Regions from separate parts of the Homo sapiens genome. Here region 2 is linked to region 1. Evidence: promoter capture Hi-C in 16 types of primary human blood cells and fetal thymus (Javierre and others, 2016). All regions are on one chromosome and are shown on one strand. Each heading gives the region's core, a stretch centred on a gene start or on the middle of the fragment in contact. The rest is flanking DNA. Distances are from core to core; before and after follow the strand shown. Region 1 holds the start of LRIG3 (leucine rich repeats and immunoglobulin like domains 3). Region 2 has its middle 250 kb from the start of LINC02388.

What was found. The method cuts DNA at HindIII sites, captures the fragments that hold promoters and counts their contacts. A CHiCAGO score of 5 or more calls a contact.
Region 2: a fragment that was not itself captured here is called in contact with the fragment with the promoter of LRIG3 in region 1 in 1 of 17 cell types (endothelial precursors); the score reaches 5.3 in endothelial precursors.

Annotation. Positions count from the first base shown.
Region 1 is chr12:58,917,919-58,925,744 of GRCh38, reverse strand. LRIG3 (leucine rich repeats and immunoglobulin like domains 3) reads left to right here and starts at 5,241. Exons shown (of 19, transcript NM_153377.5): 1 at 5,241-5,745. The coding sequence starts at 5,510. It overlaps LRIG3-DT (LRIG3 divergent transcript), which reads right to left and starts at 5,041. Exons shown (of 6, transcript NR_183518.1): 1 at 4,955-5,041; 2 at 4,273-4,346. RefSeq lists enhancers at 77-701, 6,075-6,344 and silencers at 4,357-4,466, 5,085-5,194, 5,615-5,694. The HindIII fragment of the contact is 6,290 bases long and covers 4,169-7,826 here.
Region 2 is chr12:58,532,356-58,540,181 of GRCh38, reverse strand. No RefSeq gene overlaps it. Among named protein-coding and RNA genes, the nearest start is that of LINC02388, 250 kb to the left of the region's middle. The HindIII fragment of the contact is 928 bases long and covers 2,156-3,083 here.

The DNA of each region.
Region 1 (7,826 bases), core at 3,992-6,491:
CAATTCAAATAATATCACACAGTTGGCCAACTTGAGAAAAACAGATGGGTGGCTATCTTTATTTTTCTAAATATTTTCTGAAAGTTAAGACATGTTCATAGCAGGGGTTGTGTAAAGTAATCTGCTCTCTAAGTGAAGCTGTGCATTTTGTGTGTTTGTATGTGTGTGTGAGAGAGAGAGAGAGAAAGGAAGGTTATCTATTTCTTCTAAAATGCCTTAATGAATGGGAAAAGATATGGTTAAGTTACAAAGTACAGCAACATTTGCTTTTGGCATCATTATCTGGGGATTTTTGTGCTTTTCTTCCTCCTTTGCCTTATCTCTTTTCCCTTTTCACAGCTCCCACTTACACAAACTGTGTCATTCATTGTAATGATAAAGCAAGTACTGAGTGTTTAGCTTTCATTCTTGTCCTTGGATGTTAAAACTGACAGTTTAGCACCTCTATTACTTTTTATCGGTGAGTCACTGGCCTTGCCAGCACTCAAGATAAGAAAGTCTCACACTTGCCAGAGAAAGAAAAAAGACCAGGAAAACTAAAAAGAGCACTGGGATTGGGTTATGCTCACCACAAAATGGGTGGTAGGAGACCCTTTTGAAAATGGATGAAACTTGCCATTCACTGGGACACAGCTGGAAACGAGAAACTGTCTGGTGTGATCTCAGCAATTTCCAATGGAAAGCTAACTTCCAACTACCTGGTTAACCAGTGTAAACCTCTGAAGGAGTAGAGAAATCCAACATCTTATCTCATTTTATTTCAAATGTTAAAAGACCTCTGGTCAAAATGAATTTGACTTTCTCATACTAAATTCTTATTTGTAAGCCATTATCCACAAAAACTGAGATTCAACATTTGATAGCACTGTGTCCTCTGTGTGTGTGTGTGTGTGTGTGTGTGTGTGTGTATACAAGAAAATGACATCATAAGAGTATCAGAGAATTCAGTGATACATTAATCCTGTTTCTAGGTCACTGTTATTCCCTGATACATTTTGGGAGATTAAACAGAATTTTATGTACCTCTTCTTCCTCTATTACAACTATCTTTGCTGTCACTCTGCCTTCACGCCTATTTTCTATATACTGTAAAGGAATCAGAACAGAGCTGTAAGGGACCTCAAAAGATATTAGTTCTCATCTGCCCAGATGGATACCCAGTGGAAGTTCTCTCTGCCCTGTGGTTCATGAAAGGTTTGAGAAGCCTGTGAAAATATTACATTGATGTAAAGTTTCAGCCAGGCAGGTGGCTCATGCCTGTAATTCCAGCACTTTGGGATGCCGAAACGAGTAGATGGATTTCTTGAGCCCAGGAGTTCGAGACCAGACTGGACAACATGGTTAAACGCCATCTCTCTCTCTCTATATATATATATATCTATATATACATATATTAAAAATACAAAAATTAGACTGGTATGGTGGCATGCGCCTGTGGTCCCAGCTATTCAGGAGGCTGAAGTGGGAGGATCGCCTGAGCCCAGGAAGTTGAGGCTGCAGTGAGCCAATATCCCGCCACTGCATTTCAGCCTAGGTGACAGAGTGAGACCCTGTCTCAAAAAAATAAAAATAAAAAAATTAAGTTTTCATGTAGGACTAGTTCCCCTTTGTATTGACCACATGGTTAAGCACATATCGAAATGTAGAACAGTGATTTTTAATGTGCGCTGTATTCTTTCCATGTCATCCTCTTTTACTCTCTCAATGATCCCATTAAGTTCTGAGTAAGCTTAAGCCACACCCATAAAACGTCCTCTGTTGATTAATTCCCAAATACAATTAAAGTGGAACAAGATCTTACTTGCAAAGTAACCTTTCCAAAAAAATCTCCTAGATATTTGTAATCTCCTCCTCCCATATTTACAACTGTCTTATCTTCATCTAATTGGATAGCATTGTTTTATCGATTACCTTTAAAGAATCTTTCCCAACCTTCAAATTCATTATCATAGAAATAAAGGTATTTTCTTGTTGCACTTGTATTTGGTTTACACAATATTGTGTAACATTAATAATATATATAAACAAGTCTGTAACTACTGTGGATCAGCACCTGACAGGTAGGAGCAAATATGCAAAGGCTGTTCTAAGGAGAGGCTGGTAGTTTCTAGATTTCAGCTGGTCATAGGCATCAGTCAGGTTGTACAGAGAGAACAGAGTGACTGCTAATCCAGTAACTGATAAATGGAAGCCAGCCAGATAAGATCGTTTTTTATTGTATTCCCAATTTACAGACTGAGAAACTGGGGTACTGAAAACTTAGGTAATTTAACTTCACAATAGCTGGTAAAACCCTTAAAGGCGATAAGGAATACATGGTTATCGGAAAATTCTGTAGTATTACCTGGGGGTTAGAGTGAAAATGGTCTATTACATTCCAGTCAATACTGATGTGCTGGAAGTATACTGGAGGTATAGATAGTTAAACCTGACTCAGGGAAGTGTTTGCCAAAGAAGGAATGCCATCAACCAGGCAGAAGAAGGAGCAGAGAATGATTTGGACAGAAGAACCATTTGCAAGAGGGCTGAAGGCAAGAGTACAGCTGGGAAGAGAATTGCAAGTAGCTCCTAGAGTAGGAGAAAAATGATGAAAGACAATGAATTAAAGAGATAAATAGAGGCTCAATGCCAAAACAAACAAACAAAACTGTATAAGTCACTCTAAAGAATTTGAACCTTATTCTCAAGACACTAGGAACCCAAGAAAAGAACTGGTCAGTTGAGTCACAGGCTCAGATTTGACCTTCAGAGATATCACTTAACTGCCCTGAGGAGAAAGCAGTGGAATGCCTGATAGGTGGCAAGAGCTGCTGGTGGTCTGGATTTGCATAATTTCTACAGAGAGAAGATACATTTAGGAGCTAGCTTTAACATGACTTGCTAATTGATTGACTCTGGTGGTGGTGGTGGTGGTGGTGAGAATGAAGTAATGTTAAGGTGACTTTCAGGTTTCTGGGGCATTCATCTGGATGGAGGGAAGTATCCACTCTTTAAGACAGTGAATTCAGGAGGAAACAAGTCAGTTTCAAGGGTGGTGAAATTTAATTCTAGACATGTTACATTTGAACATCCAATTTTTAATGACCTGTGGGTAATTGCACATATGGATTTCGAGTTTAGGAAAAAGACCTGGGCTGAAATATGGATGTTGTATATGTCAGCATGTAAATGTAAATGGAATTCATGGAAGAAGATGAAATTATACAAGGAGAATAAAGAATGAGAAAAGGAAATGAGCCAAAACTCCCCAAAATGGTAGCACATTTATATCCCTGTCATATGTCTCATGTCTCAAGAGCAAGCCTCCATACTGATGTTACCTTGCTTATGCATAATGGCATGTGTACAATGGAATCTTTCTTCTTTTTAAAAACTTCAATGAATTATACCTAATTTTCCTTGTATGAAATAGATGGGGGGCCGGGTGTGGTGGCTCACGCCTGTAATCCCAACACTTTGGGAGGCCAAAGCGGGCGGATAGCCTGAGGTCAGGAGTTAGAAACCAGCTTGGCCAACATGGTGAAACCCTGTCTCCACTAAAAATACAAAAAAATTAGCCGGGTGTGGTGGTGGGCACCTGTAATCCCAGCTACTTGGGAGGCTGAAGCAGGATAATTGCTTGAACCCAGGGGGTAGAGGTTGCAGCGAGCCGACATCGCATCACTGCACCCCACTCCAGCCTGGGTGACAGACTGGAGTGTCTCCATCTCAAAAATAAAAAAATAAAAAAAATAAATAAAAATAGATGGGGGATACTGAGCTGGAAAATCCTTACTATGACTGTAGTGTGTTTTGTCTACTCCCAAGCAGACAAAATCATAAATTCAAAACCAAGGTGCCATCATTATAGATATTTTCTAATTATAATTATACATCATCCAAAAAGGTAGTAGCGTTGTTGTTAATGGTAGCTGGAAATAAGAAAATGGGATACCATATCTAAAATAGGGTGTGTTAACTTCAAAGTGAGTCTTTTCCTTCCCCCGTAAGTGGGAGTGATTTGCTACAGTGAAAAATCAATGGGCCTTAGAGTCAGGGTTAAAGTCTCAACTCCACAAGCTATCTCCACTCCTCAATCATGAGCAGTTTACGCAACTCCAAGGACAGACAAGCTTGGGCAGACAGCATGCAATAAACAATGTATAGAAGTGAAAACTTACTTTAAGCTTCCAGGGTTTGTTTTTTGGTTTGTTCATGTTTTCTGTCTTGCTTTTATTTTTATTTTTTTTGCAACAAACACATTAGTTACGTTCTCTAGGTCTATTTCCTTACCCAGAGGAGGAAGGCCCCTTAGCACATGATCTCTGCGGTCTCCATTAGTTTCAACATCTTGTGGCGCTGATCACCTGTAAGTTAAGGAACAAACTTCACTGGGAAGTCCTGTAGCCTGAATCCAGCCCCAAACATCCACTCCCCCAGCTGAGGAGGCCGGGAGGTACTTTTACCCTGGTAGCATTCTCAATCAACATGTGTCATTACTCAAAGCGCAAGTGGACCAAGGTGCATATACTAATTTTTTCCTCCAAGGTCTTAGTTTTCATTTTACTTTGAAATGTCACTGTGACTACTTTTATTATTACTATTACCAGGAATCTATGATTGCCATCGAGGTCTATTAGAAGGTCATCTCCCATCCCCCACCCCGCCCAGCTTTATCCAGTGCACGAAGGCTGGCTATTTGTAATTCAATATACACTTTCCAAAACCACGAGTTTTACGTTTTATTATTGTTTTTACTTTTGAAGCCGATGTATGGGGGAACACCCACCAGCATTAACGTTGAAAGAGCTGTTTTCATTGAAACCACTCTTTCATCTGTGGATGGTAGGATAATTTATCAGTGTCTTTAATTTGGAATTGAAAAGTTTCCTGAAAACACTGCTAATTAAACTTTACTTCCCTGAAGTTCTCCTAAATACCTCCAACTCCGAGAACTAGCCCAGTATTTGCTCACTTCCTTTTGCCTTTCAACTCCATTTGATATATGTTTCCCACGACGTAGTGGAGACTTCTGGCTGGAGAGGCTGGAAAATATAACTCTGAATTTCCTACAATCTCAGCTCCACTTTCTCCCGCGCGTAGGCCCCCGGCTGGAGCGGTGTTATTGTCACGTGGCCACGGGGACGCCCGCAGCCGAGTCGGCCAATGGGCGCGCGTCGGCCTCTACCCGCCCGCCTTGCTACTCCGCCGCGCGGGGACTTGGCGCAGTGCCGCGGGGTGGAGGCGAAAAAGTTTCTTTTGCAGACAAGAAGGGGCTTCGGCGAGCCGACGCTGCTCAAGCTGCAACTCTGTTGCAGTTGGCAGTTCTTTTCGGTTTCCCTCCTGCTGTTTGGGGGCATGAAAGGGCTTCGCCGCCGGGAGTAAAAGAAGGAATTGACCGGGCAGCGCGAGGGAGGAGCGCGCACGCGACCGCGAGGGCGGGCGTGCACCCTCGGCTGGAAGTTTGTGCCGGGCCCCGAGCGCGCGCCGGCTGGGAGCTTCGGGTAGAGACCTAGGCCGCTGGACCGCGATGAGCGCGCCGAGCCTCCGTGCGCGCGCCGCGGGGTTGGGGCTGCTGCTGTGCGCGGTGCTGGGGCGCGCTGGCCGGTCAGACAGCGGCGGTCGCGGGGAACTCGGGCAGCCCTCTGGGGTAGCCGCCGAGCGCCCATGCCCCACTACCTGCCGCTGCCTCGGGGACCTGCTGGACTGCAGTCGTAAGCGGCTAGCGCGTCTTCCCGAGCCACTCCCGTCCTGGGTCGCTCGGCTGTAAGTATTCTTCCCGCGGGGGGAGGGGGCCCGGGCCGCTGGAGATTCGAGAAAACAGGAGCCGGCGGGGAATGGGGTTCGGCGTGCAGTCCCCTTTTTGCCGTATAGCTCCTTCTGGCCCAGGCCGCGATCGGCGCTCCGTGGGCGTGGAAAAAGAACTGTCCGGGCCTCAGTTTCCCTCCCACGTGCTTTGCGGGCGGCGCAGGTGGGCTCTTGGCGCGTCCTAACTGGCTGCAGGTAGACCAGGGTTGGGGGCCAGTAACGACGCCAGAGATTGGGGATGAAGTCCTGCGCCCTAAGCTAGCCAAGGGGTTCAAATGCTTGCTCCTGCCAGGCCCAGGGGAGATAAGCGGCAACCTGCACACATCAGGAGTTTGCAGTTCTCGCTGAGTTATGAGTCTGGTTCAGTTTTAGTTTCTAGCTGCGTCAGACTCCTTTTCCTGTTCCCACCCAGTAACTGAAGTCAGGCTTTTCATTTGGGAAGCCCCCTCAACAGAATTCGGTCATTCTCCAAGTTATGGTGGACGTACTTCTGTTGTTCTCCCTCTGCTTGCTTTTTCACATTAGCAGACCGTAAGTTCCCACTCCTCAACCAGATTGTAAAGACTGGTCGGTAGCTATGGAAAGGGCGGAACTCGATTATCCAGAATCAAGGGCGTGATTTCTGTAGCTCCTCAGAACGCCCAGACGGTTTAGGGGAGAGCGCAGGGAGCTCTTATGCAAGTTTTTGGATTTTTAGCTGCGAAGTCTGAAAACCTGAAATCACTGCCAACTGCGTGAAGAACAAGGAAGAAAATGTAATTTAGTTGGAAATGCTGATCTTTTCCAAATGTCATCTCTTTTCTTCCTCAGTCCCAGTTTTAAAATTGGAGTGCTGTAAAAAGTAAACAATCAAAATTTGTATTTTTTAAAGTAGTTGTTCTGTTTAAAATAAAAGTGCACTTCATACGTAATCTTATATTTTGACTTAGCAGAATTGCAATGAAAATTTTAAGTTTTTAAAACAATTCTAGTGAACTATTCCAATGCCCTAATGTGGTAGGAGGTTTGGTCAGGTGTTTAAGAATTTATATTTTAAAATTATTGTGCTAATCTAAATAACTTTTGTGAATGTAGAATTGTTGGCCATCAGAAAGTATATTCCTTGTGTTTTTAATAAGCCTTAGTTTAATAAAGTAGAATTAGTATTGGATTGATATTTAATTTCTTGGGACGTTTTATTTAGTAGTTTTTATTGCAATTGGAAGAGGAGATAAGGTCTTTAACCGAAAGCAGGGAGACTTTCAATTAGTTGTGGCTAATTCTGTTAAATTGCCTCTTGTGGAGGTCATGCTGCCTTATTCATGAGTGAATGGCTCTATTGACAACATATGGAACTGAACATGTAAATGACTGGAGGTGAACACTTAGGAATAATAGAGGGATGAGAAAGAGAAAATGAATACAGTGCTTCCTGGAGTGTATTTAGATATGCTTAGATTATTCACGGCATCTAACTTGTATTCGATAGTTTTTCAATGTCAAGTTGTCTATTGTGATCATGCTAGTGTGCAGTACTTTTTTTCTTTTTTCCTGGATTTAGATGTTTAGAAAAAAAATCTGTGTTGCCCTTGATCAGAAGTTGAGTTGAACCAAAAGGGGTTCGATACCTATTTAAACATTGTCTTAAAAGTAGCTGACCTAATTAGGATTTTGTTTTGCAGATAATTTGGTGGCACACTAAAAACAAATTAGAGTTTATTTGGTTAGCACAGTCTTTAATTACATTTCCACCAGCAGTAAATTGTCTCAATACTAGCCCACATTCCTTAAATGTATGTGAAAATAAGTTCCACTTGTATAAATAAGCACTCAGTCTGTTGTCAGGAACCCTGCTGTGATCACTTATTGGACAGCTCTGTCATTCCTGTACTTCTGTGACTTTTAACCATCTTTGTAGGTGTCACCAAACCATGTGGTCTGGATTCTTTATTGTAAATATTTCTTTTGTTTGTACCTAAAGCTCTAGAGGTCTCCTCTTTCCACTTTTGAAAGGAGCAGAAAAACACGTGGAATTGAGTTTTACTTTCTCTGTTATTTGG
Region 2 (7,826 bases), core at 1,370-3,869, 380 kb after region 1:
CACAGCTTACCTCAAGGAAGTTTACCTAGAGCGACTCCCCAGATGATGGTTTTGGGTTTATTCAGCAGGTGATGCCCCATGCAGAGAGCAATACTGAGTTATTCTAGAGAACAGCCTCCTACAAATGTATTTCTAGTGTTTATTTATATTGGAGCTCCCTTAGACATAGAATAAATTTTTCATGAGACCAAAGATGACCAATAAACACAGAAAAGCTCAGTATCAAATCAAACAATAACTCCCATGCTGGTTTAGATGGTATTGTCTCTCCTTCAATAGTAAGTCTGCGTGTGTGGTTTGATAAATCACAGACAACAGTATGCTTAACCATTCCAGATCCTCTCCTTTTTTCTCTGCACTAACAAACACTCTGAAGACAATGATTTTAAAGCATTTCAGAAGCACGCTTAAAACAATAAGGAAGGCACAGAAAATGTGAGATTTCTTTCCCTGATTTCCGGTTGATTGACCGCAATAGCACTGCTGACTTATTGAAAATGATATGAAAATCAAAAGGATAATTAGAGCTTATTTCTACTCGAAGCAGCAGCCTGAAATTTCCGTTGAATTTACACAAATTGGAGAAAAATCAGACTTGGCATTATCTCATCCTGAAATTTCTTGCCCATACCATGAGGGTCCATCTTCTTAGCTGGGGCTGGGGAGGTGAAGGAAGGGCTGTGACGTCATGTAGGTTTATTACTGCTGCATTCCACCATTGTTTTTCTTCCCTTTGTTTCATCTTTCTTATGTTTAAATTTATTTTATTTTGTCCTATTATTTTCATCTATGAAAGGAACTTTAAATCCTTTTTAGGATGAAGTGAGAATAAAAATAAATAGGTATATACATTTTGTTCCTGCGGTTTATGATCACCATTACACTTTCATTCTTAACCTCTCTCTAGAATCCTGTGGATCTGTCCAAATGGACAAGACCAATGTCGTCGATTATGAGCCCAGGAACTGGCTGTGACTGCCCCTGTGCTCCTCACTGTGCAGTTTCCCTGCCGAGGTGGAAGGCTGTGTGTGTAGCCAGCTCACCACGTCCCCTGCACAAGGAGCTTCAGCAAGACCATCAGAAGCACAGATTCTTCATCTGTATGTTACTTCTTCGGGGCTACCATAACCAATTACCACATACCCAGTGACTTATAACAATAGAAATTTATTCTGTCACAGTTCCGGAAGCCAGAAGTCTAAAACGAAGGTGTTCTCAGGGTCATGCTCTCTCTAAAGCCTCTGGGAGAGGATCCTTCCTGGCCTCCTCTAGCTTCTGGAAATGCCAGCAATTCTTGGCCTTCCTTAACCTGCAGATGCATCACTCCCATCTCCGCCTTCACCATCACATGGCCTTCTCTTCTATGTCTCTGTCTTCACGTGATGTTTTCTCTCTGTGTCTGTATCCCACTACCTTCTTCTTAGAAGGACATTTATCCTTGGATTAGGGTCCACCCTAATCCAGTATGACCTCATCTTAACTGGATTACACCTGCAAAGACCCTACTTCCAAATAAGGTCACATTCTGAGGTACCAGGTAGGCATGAATTTTGGGGGAACTCTACTTACCTGGAGTAACAGTACCTATCTTAGCTGTGGTGACACATACGTAGTACTCTGAGTGCCACATCCTGAGCATGAATGTAATGATAGCTCTTATTAAAAACAAACTATACTTTGACTTCTCATAACTTTGTCCACAGTAATGATTTTTCCATCAGGAGTACAAACTCAAAGTGTCTTTTGTTGTTGTTTTTATTTGCGTGCGTTTCTTTTTAAAGAAATCTCTGGTTTATTTTGGATATTTTGTTTTGTTTTTATTTTCCAAAACAAAAAAGATCAAGGTGTTGTGTTTACATATACTAAGCAGGATACTTCTTTACGGAAGACAGGGAGCTTCATTACATACTTTGACACTCCCAGTGGAAAGGTGGGTTGGGTGGATGTGCGATACAGAGAGGTTAGGTTACCAGATGCCTGCTAGATGCTAGAAGTATCTCCTTTGGGACTTAGCAGTTCTTAAGTCTGAATGGCGTGGGCCCTTCTCGGAATTCCATCCACATGCACCTTCTTCTCACTTGCTTTCCTTTTGCTTCTGGGCACCATGGGTAGTACCCTTTTATTCTCCCTCCCCATCCGTTAATCCAGAGAAGCTTGCAAAAGCCTAAAGCATAAGATGCAGCAAAGCTAACATGAAGAGACATGTCAGATACAATTCAGAGCAACACCAACTAATTATTAGACTCCAGCAGATTCAAAACAGAACCTCCACTGAGAGAGAGAAATAAGATTATTCTATCCATTTGATGTTCTTGTTAACCTAATAGCCTTTCTTACCATCACTCATGCTCCAGAGAATTTTGGCGTGGAATGAATCTTGGATGTTACACTCTTGCCTCATTTAAAGAGAACCAGCTCTAGCTTTACCAGGGTTTACAAACAATTATAGTTTTAAACTATTTTAAAGTCGGTGTTTTCCACCATTAGGTGTTTACAGAATTTCCTCGGCCAGGATAAAGTCCCACTGCATTCAATACACACCAATGTGTGTCCATTCTCACACCCTGGAAGTCATTTCAGAGCACGTAGACGGCATGTGTGTGCTGGTATGTGTTGCCAGTGTGTCTATGAGATGCACAGGCCATGCAGAAGACATCTGTAAACACAGTCTGTTTTCCCACCACATTCTTGCTCTCTGAGTCAGCGGCACACATATGGCAGGAAGAACTGGAACATTCTTCTTTTAAGGGGTAAATTTGGAACCAAGAGTTGATGTTTCTCCATCTGTGTGGCAGTGGAAGACATTTAAAATAAATACAAGCTCTTGTAATCTAAGCCAGAACCAGGGAGGAACAGGATAATGCGGAGACTTATAACTAAGAAGTGGTAAAAATCAGAGTTCTGTTAAGAACAGAAATAGTCTTTCTTCATATGAGAGAAGGCCATGTATCTCTAACAGAAAGAAGTCCTCACTTCAGCTAGAGGTACCACCTTGTAAATAAACCAGCATGAATCAGCCTCTTGCCCCTGGCTGATGAGAACAGGAAACAATTGGAATATTTCACCCTAAAGTTAAGGAAGCTTCTGCCTCAGGTCCCTGCACCTGCTCAGAGTCTCATGAGGGCTGTGAGGTGCTAGGAAGTGTGAAGCATTCTAGGTGGTAAGGAGAAGCCAGGTGGCAATCAGAGAGCATTTTGATGTAAGCATTTTGGTAAATTGCTTTAAAAAGATCTAAAGAATTGCTGGGCCACCAAGACTCTAGTAATTAATTGAGAATTCTTTTATCGTTCAATCATTTACCTAATTTTTAATTCATAATTTTGTCTTCTTTTTCTAGAACAAAGAGGGAGCCTCAAAACTGTATATACTCCTGACCACACAAAAGCTGGATATGCCCTTGGCTCTCTCAGGGAGGCAGAGCCCCACCCCTCTTTCTGGAATTAGCACTGATTTAGGAGAGGCAAACAACCATGGCTGGAGGTAGGCAGGCCAGTGGACTTTCTCCTACTGTTGAATATAGTTGAGTTTCCCAGGTGAGGGTTTGAAGTATTTGACTGCAGGCCGTATAAAAAGATATGTGTAAAGAAGGTGGTGATTGAGGAGAGAGGACATTCACCCAGTAGACTCTTCTTCAAAGCCCTAAAACTATAGGCCCACTCCCTGCATGACCAAGAATTAAGTAAAACTATTCCTTTCACAGGCATTAGAGCTCTAAATAATCCTTCATGAAGAAGCTGTGAGTGTTCCCCATAGTACTTGTGGCCGAGGCAGGAGGTCCTCAGAAAGGGATGGTCATGAATCCTAAACTAGTGTGGGGATTCAGGGAATGTGGGGCTAGGAATAGATGAAAAATGAATTCCTAAACAGATTTATAATTGGTTTTTGGTCACAGCAAGAGCCTTTCATGGCTCCTGTAGCTAAGAAAATACCCAAGAAAGAGAAACACAAAGAATTAATTCCCTATCCTCCATCCTCCCAAATGTTAACAATAAACACTCCTTTTGAGATTAAAAATATGGGCTGTGCCACACCCACGTTGCATTTATATTATTGGAGGACATTCCCTGCTGGCTTCATGCCAAGGAAAATGACTGCAAAACACACCTAAACTTTCAATTACAACCCAGGTGGTGATGATGAGGAGCTCTTGTAGGAGACAAAATGAGTGAGCTTTGCTCTGAAACATGCCTATAAAGATTGGGGCTGCTTATTGTCAAAGTAAATTTCTTCTAACAATGGGCCTTTATAAATGTATACGCCAGTTCTCTAGGAGTATAGTAGTACCTAGAGGCAGGGATGTGGATTACATTGGGAGCCCAAACATTTTGATGAGAAAAAAAGTTACATTATTTAAAGCTTTTGGACCTTTCAGGGAAAAGAAGTTGTATAATGATGCTAAAGACTCAGTCTGGAAAGAGAGAGGAAGGAAGCAAGAGAACCAGAGAGATGGACTGGGAGGTCAAAGCACTTAGAAAATGTGTTATATTATTAGATTCTTGATGGCAATGACCTTTGTTTATTCATCTACCTATGCCCTATAAAACTTATTACAATGTTCTACACATAGTAGAAACTTAGTCAACATTTGGTGAATGAGTAAATGAAGTTTAACAAATCAGGCATAACTATATAGTAGGTACCAATAGTAGGTACCAATGAATTAGGTCAGTAGTTTTCAGAATAAGCTGGAGAGCTTTTAAAAAAAGATGATGTCCCACCCACACCAATTAAATCTGGGATTTTGGGGTTTGGGACACAGATATACATATTTTTCAAAAGTTCTTTAGGTGATTCTGCTAAATAGAGAGTAGTGAAAACTACTAAATTGGGTGCTAGGCCAAGTTCCCTTCTAAGATCAAGATTCTGCGGCCTCTAAAACATTGTCAGGCTCCTTGGATAATATGCCAGTACCAGGTATAAAACTTCTTTGACTGTAGCCAGGATCAGCTATATAATTTGTGGGCTCAGTGCAAATAAAAATGCAAGACTCCTTATTCAAAAATTATTAAAAATTTAAAATTATTAAGAATTTCAAGATAGCAACAGCAGAGCACTAAATCAAGTGTAGGCTTCTTATAAGCATGGGTTTTGTATGACTGAACTGGACTCACACACAAAGCCAGCCCTGTCTATAGCATCCAGTCCTACGAAGTCACTACCTCGTAATCTCTATTTGCATCACTACTACAACTCTTTGTTCATGTATTATCAGAGAGATCACTCTTGGACACTCTTTCCTGCTCCATGAAATTTTAAGAAATAAAAGATATTGAAGATAATCTGGCAGATTTGATTCAATACACACCAATGTGTGTCCATTCTCACATCCCGGAAGCCATTTCAGTGCACTTACATCCAAGGAATGAATTTCTTTCAAGTTGCCTCTGTTACAGAATAAATAAGATAAATAACCTACTGATTTCGATTTCCCTGGACCTCATTTTCTTCATCTGTATATGAAGACACAATTGCTCGCTGCATCCTGTTGCTATGAGAATTGAGATGTGTGACACAGGTGTGTTTTTCCATGGTCCACCGTGGTTGCTGTGAACCAGTTTTAGGGCTAAATTTAGTATTTATTGATTTCTACAAAATGTAGCCAAAGCCACAGTTCATTAACAAAGAAATATATATTTTGCAGAAATTATATGGGGAGATGGGGGGAAAAATGATTTTATATTGTAGACCCACAGCAGAAACATCATCAAATTCCCATCAAGTATCTCTGTTGTTCCCTCAGAATTTCTCTCCTCTGGCAGCTACCCCGTCTCACATTGTTTTCTTCCCTAAATTAATCTCCCTAAAAATCTTCCTCACCCTTCTTTGATTATTTTGAAATATTGAGTTATCTCTTCAGTTTACAAATAAAATTCAGCAAAATAAAAGCTTGTTGGTCAACTGAGCCACGATCATCTACTCTGCCTCGAACATGTTCTGTGAGCATCTCACCCACCACACCCAATCCAAGAGGCATCTCGAAATATCACCTCCACCAGGAAGATAGTACAGATTTGGAAAAGTCTTCTGCCAGGAAAATAAGATTTCCTCCATATAACTATATAGGTAAAATAACTGGTTCACAGTAAATGTTAATTCCCTTCTTCCTCTCACCTTTTTCACTGTTTCTGTCTGAACACTTCCAGTTATGAGAGAATTTCACTCACAAGGTAAATTCATTCTATTTATCAACAACTCTACTTGTTGAAAATGCCTTCTTATGTTGACTCAAAATCCACTTCCCTATAACTTCTGTCTAATATATGCCATCCCCTCTAGGACAAGTTAGTACAAGCTTCATTCTTTCCCAAGATGACAGCTTCTTCCTTCCCAGGTTTCTCCCAGTTATTCACTGCTCTTCCTGTGACAGACTTCGCAAATTCTGGACTGTACTGGCTTCCTTCTATTGAATAGGCTCCAACTTTTCTTTATACCAAACTAAATACAATATCCTAATGTGGTCTTTGATGTAGTCTAAACTGCCAAAGGATAATTTCTTCTCTAGTTCTGGACACACTCTGATTTAATCAAAGCCTCTCAATTTTCTCAGCTCTTAGGGAAGCCCTCTCAGGAGGCTCTTTGGAATAGCATGAGGTAGAACTGAAGCAATGGTGTGAAGCCTTGTGACTTAATACTAATCATGCTGAAGGTGGCCACCAAAAATTTCACAAGTCAGGGATGGAAAGATGGGTAGAACTCAGAGCAAAGTCATCAGTAGCATTAATTGAAGTTTCAACATCCCAAGTGACAGGATCCTTACTCTAGTTGAACCCAGGGAATAAATATTACTCAGTAACAGCTTGTTTGCTCTTATGTCTTCAGTGATTCAACAAATCAAATACTTAGTGTCTCTCGGGCACTGTGTTGACATGGTCCCATTCTCAAGCAAGTTAGAGCCTAATGAGAAAAGTAAACAACTGTGGTAAAGGCAATAAAAGAATATAATAAAGTCTAATAAGAAACAGGATAAAAGGAGGGACATACTTTAATTGTGTATGATCAAAAAAGATGTTTTTGTGTAGATAATATTTAAGCTGACATCTGAAAGAAAAGGAAGATCTAGCCAGACATAGAGTAGATGAAGAGAGGTTATGGCAGCAAAGGGCATGCCAGGGGGTGGGGGTTAAAAATCTCAAGGGAGAAAATGTTGGTGTGTTTGAAGGAGCTGAAAGCATGTCAGTGTGACAAAAGCTTAGTGAATCACAGGGAGGAAGGCAGGAGATGGAGATGAAGATAGAAAGATGGGCAGGGACCAAATCACGCAAGCCCTGGAGAGCCACGGGTCAAAGACTGGGTGTTATGGAGTTCGTGCTACTAAAAGTGTTCAAAGAGCTTTAAGCAAGAGAGTAAAATGATCTGATTTAGGCTTTAAAAATATAATCCTGGCTGCTCTGTAGAGGATAAATTGGAGGAAGGCAAGAAAGGATGTTGGAGACCAGTTTGGAGGCTCTTGTACTTCAGGCGAAACTGATGGAGGATTGGATAGTAATGGTAAGTAAAAACACAGATGGAAAAGATGAGAAGATTTGAAATGTAGTCTGCTTATCACAATCTTAACTGAAGTTCAACTCATCCAATCCAGGTATCTAACATATACCTAAATATACCTAACAGTTCTTAAAATATGGCCCCCAGGCAGGCAGCCTTGGCATCACCTGGGAACTGTTCAGAAATGCCAATCTCAGGCTCCACTCCACACAATGATTCAGAAATTCTGGGGATGGATCCCAGAAATCTATGTTTTAACAAGCCCTCCAAGTGATTCTAATATGTACTAAAGTTTGAGAGACACTGACCCAGAGGAATTAATTAACTTGGGACTTTCTGAA